2 separate regions of the Homo sapiens genome follow, and region 1 is linked to region 2. Evidence: promoter capture Hi-C in human tissues and cell types (Jung and others, 2019). All regions are on one chromosome and are shown on one strand. Each heading gives the region's core, a stretch centred on a gene start or on the middle of the fragment in contact. The rest is flanking DNA. Distances are from core to core; before and after follow the strand shown.

Region 1 (4,655 bases), core at 1,127-3,626, 120 kb before region 2:
CCTTGGCCTCCCAAAGTGCTGTGATGACAGGCGTGAGCCCCTGTGCCCAGCCAGGGGGTGGCTGTTTTATAATAGGTTTGCAAGTTTGTTTTTCTTTTTGTTTTGTTTTGTTTTTTTGAGACAGAGTTTTGCTCTTATTGCCCAGGCCAGAGTGCAATGGCACAACCTTGGCTCACTGCAACCTCTGCCTCCTGGGTTCAAGCGATTCTCCTGCCTCAGCCTCCCGAGTAGCTGGGATTACAGGCACCAACCACCACGCCCAGCTAATATTTCATATTTTTAGTAGAGACGAGGTTTCCCCATGTTGGCCAGGCTGGTCTCGAACTCCTGACCTAGGTGATACGCCTGCCTCGGTCTCCCAAAGTGCTGAGATGACAGGTGTGAGCCACTGCACCCGGCCCTGAGATAAGCATTGTTAAGATTTGGTTGTCCGGGTGCAGTGGCTCAAGCCTGTAATCCCAGCACTTTGGGAGGCCGAGGCGGGCGGATCACGAGGTCAGGAGATGGAGACCATCCTGGCTAACGCAGTGAAACTCTGTCTCTACTAAAAATACAAAAATTTAGCCGGGCGTGGTGGCAGGCACCTGTAGTCCCAGCTACTCAGGAAGCTGAGGCAGGAGAATGGCGTGAACCTGGGATGTGGAGGTTGCAGTGAGCCAAGATTGTGCCACTGCACTCCAGCCTGGGTGACAGGGCAAGACTCCATCTCAAAAAAAAAAAAAAAAAAGATTTGGTTATGTTCCTGCAGTCCTATATGGGGCTAGAAGAATATCACCAAATATCACCAAAATGTATAAGTATACACACATGCACACACACATTTGTGAGTGTGTGTAGGCACGCATGCATGGATAATAGATATACCTGTGTATGTCTGTATATAGACATTTGTGTTTCTCAAAATTGTATCAAAACTGGATTCATGGCCAGGCACAATGGCTCACGCCTGTCATCCCAGCACTTTGAGAGGCCCAGGCAGGGGGATCACCTGAGGTCAGGAGTTCGAGACCAACCTGGCCAATGTGGTAAAACCCCGTCTCTACTAAAATACAGAAATTAGCCAGGCATGGTGGTGCATGCCTGTAATCCCAGCTACTCGGGAGGCTGAGGCAGGAGAAACGCTTGAATCTGGGCGGCGGAGATTGCGGTGAGCCAAGATTGCACCACTGCACTCCAGCCTGGGCAACAAGCGAAATTCTGTCTTAGGAAAAAAAATTCATATTATGTATATTGTTTTCTAAACTTTTTTTTTTTTTTTTTAGACGGAGTCTTGCTCTGTCACCCAGGCTGGAATGCAGTGGCGCAATCTCAGCTCACTGCAACCTCTGCCTCCCGAGTTGAAGCGATTCTCCTGCCTCAGCCTCCTGAGTAGCTGGGATTACGGGCATGTACCACCATGCCCTGCTAATTTTTTTGTATCTTTAGTAGAGATGGGGTTTCTCCATGTTGGTCATGCTGGTCTCAAACTTCTGACTGCAGGTGATTCACCCACCTTGGCCTCCCAAAGTGCTGGGATTACAGGTGTGAGCCACCGTGCCTGGCCTGTAAACGTTTAATTTTTCGAGGCACGTTTCTGCTGTGTTGCCCAGGCTAGATAGTGCAGTGGTGTGATCACAGCTCACTTTAGCCTCTACCACCTGGGCTCAAGCAATCCTCCCACCTCTGCCTCCTAAATAGCTGGGACTACAGGCGTCCACCACCACACCTGTGCGTGTGTGTGCATGTGTGTGTGTGTGTGTGTGCCTTTTTTTCATGGAGACAGAGTCTCTGAGCCTATGCTCTGCAGGCTGGTCTCAAACTCCTGGACTCAAGCAGCCCTCCCCACTTGGCCTCCCAAAGTGCTGGATTCCAGTGGCGAAAACCCATCTCTACTAAAAAAAACACCCCAATCGGGCTTGCAAAGTGCTGGATTCCAGGCATAAGACTGCACCCGGCCTGTTTTGTGAGATTTTTAACTTAAAATCTACCCTGTGCCAAGCACTTTGGGAGGCCAAATGGGGAGGGCTGCTTGAGCCCAGGAGTTCAAGACCAGCCTGGGCAACATAGTGAGACCCTATCTCTTAAAAAAAAAATTAGCTGGGCGTGGGACCTGTGGTCCTGGCTACACAGGAAGCTGAGGTGAGAAGATCACTCGAGCCCAGAAGGTGGAGGCTGCAGTGAGCTGAGATTGCACCACCACGCTCCAGCCTGGGAGGCAGAGTGAGACCCGGTCTCAGAAAAAAACAAAAAGCAAACCAAACCGTATGCTGAATGTGCACTGTGTTGGCTGCACAGAATGGGGTGAGATGTGTGTCTCTCGTATTGTATTTGATCCATATGTCCGTGGGGCTCCTACGTGTGGGTAAGGCTGTGAGTGTCACCTGGTGGGGACTAATTCCTGGTCATCCCTGGTGCTTTTTGTAAAGAAAGTGAGTTGCAGCCTGGCTGTGGTCCTGCTGGTTGTAGCAGACAGATCCATACAGTGCAGACGCGATGGTAATTTTGGTTTCATCATTCACGAGAAGCTTTATTTATTTATTTATTTTTTGAGATGGATCCTCGCCGTGTCACCCAGGCTGGAGTGCAGTGGTATGATCTCGGCTAACTACAACCTCCACCTGTCGGGTTCAAGCCATTCTCCTGCCTCAGTCTCTGGAGTAGCTGGGATTACAGGTGCCTGCCATCATGCCTGGCTAATTTTTGTATTTTTAGTAGAGACAGAGTTTCACCATGTTGGCCAGGCTGGTCTCGAACTCCCGAGCTCAGGTGATCCACCTGCCTCGGCGTCACCAAGTGCTGGGATTACAGGCGTGAGCCACCACACCCAGCCCGTGAGAAACTTTAAGTCAGTGCAGTGGCACGCGGATGGTGCAGGGCCGCAGGCTTCACCTTCCTTTTGGGTCTGAAGTGACTGCCTCGCTGTTTGGGGTCAGAAATAGCTGTGTGTAGGGGCAGGTGTGAGCTGTGTCTTGTGTGTCCCACAGAAGTGACCCTCATCATGATGGTGTGGTACTGGCATTCTTGTCCGTAGACTGACAAGGATTCTTTTTTTCTTTTTTCTTTTTTGGAGACAGAGTCTTGCTCTGCCACCCAGGCTGGAGTGCAGTGTCGCGATCTCGACTCACTGCAAGCTCCACCTCCTGGGTTCAAGTGATTCTCCTGCATCAGCCTCCCGAGTAGCTGGGACTACAGGTATGTGCCACTACACCCGGCTACTACTTTTTGTACTTTTAGTAGAGATGGGGTTTCAGCATGTTGGCCAGGCTGGTCTCGAACTCCTGACCTCAGGTGATCCACCCGCCTCAGCCTCCCAAAGTGCCGGGATGACAGGCGTGAGCCACCTCGCCTGGCCCTGGATTCTGTTTCTTAAACTGCAGGGAATACTAAATACTTTACATGTGTATGTTTCTCATTTCATTTTCCTAAAGGAATTGGAGAGTGAGTTGTTGAGATTCTTTTCATTTTATTTTTTATTCTCTATGGTCCTCATCATGCAAATGGCTAAATGGTTTTTTTTTTTTTTTTTTTGAAACAGGGTCTTGCTCTGTCACCCAGGCTGGAGTGCAGTGGTGCGGTCTCGGCTCACTGCAACCTCTGCCTCCCGGGTTCAAGCGATTCTCCTGCCTCAGCCTTCCTAGTAGCTGGGATTACAGGTGTGCACCACCGTGTCCGTCTGATGGTTAAATTTTTCCTAGAGATGAGGTTTTGCCATGTTGCCCAGGCTGGTCTCAAACTCCTGAGCTCAGGTGATCCCCCCACCTGGGCCTCCCAAGGCGCTGGGGTTCCAGGTGTGCAGAGGGCTCTTTGTCTACACGCATCACTGGATTTTCTACCCACGGGGACAGGAGTGTGACCACAGCGAGGTGGTCAGGGAGTTGTCACCGGCGGGCACTGCAGCCCAGAGATGATGATGGCTCTAGGAGTTTGGTTGTGGAGCACAGATGCCAGCGGTGTGGGCACGTGGCCCTGCACCTGTGTTTCTCCTGCACAGGCCCCAGAACCCCAGGATGGGATCTCTGTGCAGTGACGAAGTCAGTGGCCTCTTGGTGAGGCTGAGGGATGGGAGTCGGCAGAATCCAGGCTGGGCCCCCGAGGCCTGGCTCCCTCACTGCATCCCTGAGGTCCCACAGCCTGGTGACAGCATGACTGAAGACCACACTCCAGTCAGGTGGCCAGCCCCACATGTGACCCCGGGTCTTGGCTCCCACTCCTGACCCAGGGTCCTGGCCTTCCACGTGTGACCCCGGTTCCGGCTCCTGTCCCCGCCCCCTCTGTCCCCTTTCCCCTCTTTCCCCAACACCCCTTCCTCTCTCCCAGACACCCCTTCCTCTCTCCCCGGCACCCCTTCCTCTCTCCCCGGCACCCCTTCCTCTCTCCCCACCCCCCGTCCCCCCCTCCTCTCTCCCCATCCCCCCCTCCTCTCTCCCCGTCCCCCACTCCTCTCTCCCCGACCGCATCTCTCCCTTGAGTCCTTGAGTGGTCCTGGCTGCACACCTACCTGGCTGGCCCCATCCTCTCCAGGGCAGGGACAGCCGATGCCCCGCACCTCCCCCATTGCTTTTCTACCTCTGCCCCCTCCCCACATAGGCCTGGTATCCCTTGGACTCCTGTAGGCACCAGCCGTAGTCTTAAGAAGTCAGTGTGTCCCACAGCCCTAAAAGGTCAGGGTACCCCCT
Region 2 (4,665 bases), core at 419-2,918:
TGAAGCTCTGAAGAAAAAATAAGTGAAATAATTTCATGACATTTTACCATGAAACAAATTGGCTTCCTTTCTTATCTCGCCACCAAATTTTGGGGGGGAAATATATATTTATTTATATATTGATTAAATATATAAAAATATATATTTATAAATATATAAAAATATATATTTATAAATATATAAAAATATATTACTTATTTTATATATATGTAAATATACATATATATAAAATATATATAAAAACATTAAAATATATATAATTTTAATATATTTATATATATAAAATACTATAGTCTTTTTCATAACATACTTGCAACATACATTTGGTTTTTGATATTTTACAGTTTATTAATCTCTGCCTAAAATCTTGCTGATGTTGCTCTAACCAGTAGAGGAAAGCATTGTAGATGAACTGCTCCTTTGCTTAAAACATTAAAATGGGTTCTTACCACAATTAAAATATGAAAAAATTCTTACCTCAGACCGAAAGACCCTTGCAGTCACATAAAACTTAACCCTTAAATTTCTCACACTTACTCATTATACTTCAACCACTCTGGGGTTTCCTTTATATTCTTTAAATATAATAAGTTTATTCTCTCATTATGCATAACTCTCCTCCATTGCCTACAATGGTACCTGGCAAATGGGAGGTACTCAGTGAAAAACAGGACTTGTTAAATGAATGATATGAATTCCAGCCAGAATTCCTCCTTCTCAGTTTCTTATTATAAAATCCACTTGACAGACTACATGTCGACTCAATAACCTCTTCATGGAAGTTTTCACTTCCTGGTTGCGAAGGGTATAAATCATAGGATTCATCAATGGAAAGATCACTGTGTGAAAGAGAGAAACCATCTTGTCAGCTGGTAAGGCCCTGAAAGGGCACATGTAGATGAAGATAGCAGGTCCAAACATAAGAAGTATAATAATGACACGAGTGGTGCACGTGGACATGGCCTTGTTCTTCCCTTCAGAAGCTGCCCTACGAACATGGCAGAGGATGACTGCATAGGAAGCCAGAAGCCCCAGAAAGCACAGGAGTGTCATCAGGCCACTGTTGAAGACCATTAGAAGCTCCACCACAAACATGTCGGTGCAAGCCAGCTTGATGACCTGTCGGACATCACAGAAGAAGTTGTCCAGCTGGTTTGGGCCACAAAAAGGCAAGCGGAGGATGAGGACCACCTGGATAATGGAGTGGACAAAACCCCCAAGCCACAGAGCCAACATCATTGCATAGCAGGCTCTAGGGTTCATGACAGTTGAACAGTGCAGAGGCCGGCAGATGGCGATGTAGCGGTCAAAGGCCATCACAACAAGGAGTAATCCCTCCCCTCCTCCAAGGAAGTGCAAGAAAAAGAGCTGAGTGATGCAGCCTCTGTAGGAGATTACCTTTTTCTCAGAGAGGAAGTCCACCAACATCCTGGGAGCCACAATGAAGGAGTAGGATGCATCCAGGAAGGCCAAGTTGCCCAGAAATAAATAGAGGGGGGCTGTGAGCCCAGGGTCTGACCTTATGGTGAAAATAATGAGAAAATTTCCAGGGAGGATGATAAGGTAGAAAATTAAGATCAGCACAAAGACCAAGAGCTGAATATCTTGAGACTGAGTCAGACCAAGGAGGATAAATTCTGTCACTACTGTGTTGTTTGCTATCTTCATTTCTTCTGCCTGTAGAATATCAATAAAAGAGTTTATTTTCAGGTGTTACATCTAGATTATAGTTCTTGAACTAAACACAAGGTATGCCACATTTATATTATTCTATCTATCTCAACAACCTAAGAAATCACTTCTACTGTTTATGCTTCCTCATTTCATGATAGCCAACACCCTGGTCCTGAAGCCACACTCTTTCTTCTGTTTCAGTCCTGTGCTTCTGTTTAAGTGTTCACTCATGTGAGACTTGGATGTTACTGCTCTGAATTTGTTCCTGATTTGTATGAGGCATATGAAAATTTTTCTGACTGAGAAAAAACTTAACCCCAGTTATTGAGGACTTCATGTTTTGCTTTGAATGGAAGATGAGCTGGGATTGACAGCAAAGAAGAATGACAGAACTTTTCAAGGGGACAGAAATGTTCCGTTTTTAATTATAATGGTTATATGTATCTATTTTTGTCAAAATTTATTGAGTATTGAACTATACAGCAATTAGTACAATTTATTTTATATAAATGCTACCTTAGGAATGTTTATCTAAAAACTTTTATAAAGGCAACTGTACTTACCAGAAATAATTCCCTTTTCTCTATAGAACATCAACCAAATGAACTGGTCTAAATAAAAAGCTCTCAGTCACTCTGGAGAAAACAAGATCTGAGGCTTCTCTGTACAGTGGCTTCCAAATTGAGACTGTGCTCATGCTTGGGGATGTGCATGATAATTTATTGGTATGAAAGCAATAATAGGAGAATTTCTACACTTACATTATTGTATCCTATTGTTTGAAGTTTTATTTTTGAACATTTTACATTTATATAGAATCATGATGTAATTGGATATGAAATGCATAAAGAAGATACGTATGTTTTTGGTGCATGTTCAAAAAATGGTTTGTGGTTGAAATAAAAAAATTTAAAAGCTAAAGATCTTGAGCTAGAACAAAATACTACAATGTGATACAGAAAAATATTTCATATGCTTCTGTTACACAGCACATTTGTTTTAAAATAATGTGGACTATGAAGCGTAGAGGGAAAGAGGTTCATTAACTAACTGAATGAGGAGTCGGTGTGTAAGAAGAGAGGGAAACAAAAACAATAAAGTCCCGAATTAAGAAATCAAAGAAAATATTTATAATGGCACATCTATTTAAAACATCAAAAGATATGCTTTTCAAAATATATCTAATCCTAATATATTAATTAATAGCAGAGGTTTTCAGGTATGGTCAGAATTGGGAATTATGAAAGAAGTACCTAGGCCAGGCACTGTGGCCCACACCTGTAATCCCACCCTTTTTGGAGGCCAAAGCAGGTGGATCACTTGAGGCCAAGAGTTCGAGACCAGCCTGGCAAAACCCTGACTCTACTAAAAATATAAAAATTAGCTGGGCGTGGTGGCAGGAGCCTGTAGTCCCAGCTACTTCAGAGGCTGAAGCATGAGAGTCGCTTGAACCTGGGAGGTGGAGGTTGCAGTGAGTCCATATTGTACCACTGCACTCCAGCCTGGGTGACAGAGCAAGACTCTGTCTCAAACAGAAAAAAGTATCTTACATCACATGTATGTACATCACACAGACACAAATAAATACACGCAAACACACGTATCCTAACCAAAACAGAAGCATAAAATTTTACATATGATACCCTTCTTCTTTTCTTTTTTTTTTTTTTTGGCACTTGGCCATTTATTGACCTTAATATTTATCAGTCTTTCTGTGCATATAAAACCTGCTAATAGAAAAGTCGGGAATCCCTCTCTGCTTACTCTTAAGTTGTGTACATCTTGCATGTTATTATGCAGTTGGTTATTTCATACTCTTTCAAAAATTGAGGATGTATTTGGGTCATAGAAGAAACTTTCAAGTATCTCTGAGATTGGGAGTTTCAGGTTCTTGCACTGTACCTTGCATTTTATTCCCTGTTATCCACTTCTGTTCTCCTACTGACTCTGTAACATCTGGAACCCTCTACCATCAAATATCTTTGATTCACTGTGTTCCCTTTGTGTGCTTCCCTCTAAGCTCTTTTGTTATATGGATAGTGCTCACATCATGCTCATTATGGATCCAGAAACCAAATATATATATTCATAAGGTGGACATTCCTCTAGGTAAAATGAAGTAAGTCCTAGCAAAATAAAAGCACAGAAATTCCTGCAAAGACAAGCTTGGTCTTGTCTAACTATATTAGAAGAACATAACAATGTTAGAAGGATCACTGTCAGTGGAAGCTGAAATAGAAATCTGAATGACTGCCACTCCCTCTATCCTATATTTCAATTTCAACAGAAACAAAATTTCATCTGTTCCTGACAATGCTGGAGCAGCACAGAAGAGGAAAGAGTGATGGGTGGGGGCACACACACATTCCAGATAAAGGCTGCGCTATGCACTGTTCACGTTTAGAGTCCAGGCTCTTGTTAAAAAGTTCATGGAGCAGGTATTTGGAGATTTGATTCCCATCCACAGGCACTAATTCACTCATTTTTCTTTATATTTCCTCATGCCTCCTTTTAAAATATTTATTTTATTATCTTCCCCTCCCATCTCGCTAAATATTTCTACACTTCATTTTTTAAGTTATACTTTTACTTAAGTTGGTTTCTCTTTCTCTATTTTATCTTCTCTTTCTCTCTCGTATTTGTTCTCTAATGATTCCCCTTGCTTTTCTCTTATCTCTTCTATTTTTTCTCCTTTGTTGTTTTTACTTCTCAATGTTCTTGCAGTTTCCAATATTTTTCCACTCTCTCTTCTTCTCTATTCATTTCTCCTTTATTAGATCTCATGTTTGCCTTCCCATTAATTCTGAGAAGCATCACTATTGTTTTCTTTTGAAACAGTAGTAAGGACAGCACATGAAGTTTCTTCACTCCAATTTTTGTAAGGGTTAAAAATACCTAACCCATCTTTCAGTACTAAATTACTTTCCTTGAATAGTATCCTACTTAAAATATACTGTGTAAATACTTTTAAATTATTTCCCATTACCTCAA

Evidence for each region. The method cuts DNA at HindIII sites, captures the fragments that hold promoters and counts their contacts. A contact is called where the count stands out against the background at its distance.
Region 1: a fragment that was not itself captured here is called in contact with the fragment with the promoter of OR4N4 in region 2 in 4 of the 25 tissues and cell types used here (lymphoblastoid cells, pancreas, small bowel and 1 more).

The regions. Positions count from the first base shown.
Region 1 is chr15:22,215,051-22,219,705 of GRCh38, reverse strand. No RefSeq gene overlaps it. Among named protein-coding and RNA genes, the nearest start is that of MIR1268A, 8.0 kb to the left of the region's middle. The HindIII fragment of the contact is 7,776 bases long and covers 1-4,655 here.
Region 2 is chr15:22,091,525-22,096,189 of GRCh38, reverse strand. OR4N4 (olfactory receptor family 4 subfamily N member 4) reads right to left here and starts at 1,668. Exons shown (of 1, transcript NM_001005241.4): 1 at 328-1,668. The coding sequence starts at 1,668. The coding sequence ends at 718. OR4M2-OT1 (OR4M2 overlapping transcript 1) reads right to left here. Exons shown (of 9, transcript NR_110480.2): 8 at 1,399-1,677; 9 at 572-839. RefSeq lists an enhancer at 841-2,040. The HindIII fragment of the contact is 10,782 bases long and covers 1-4,665 here.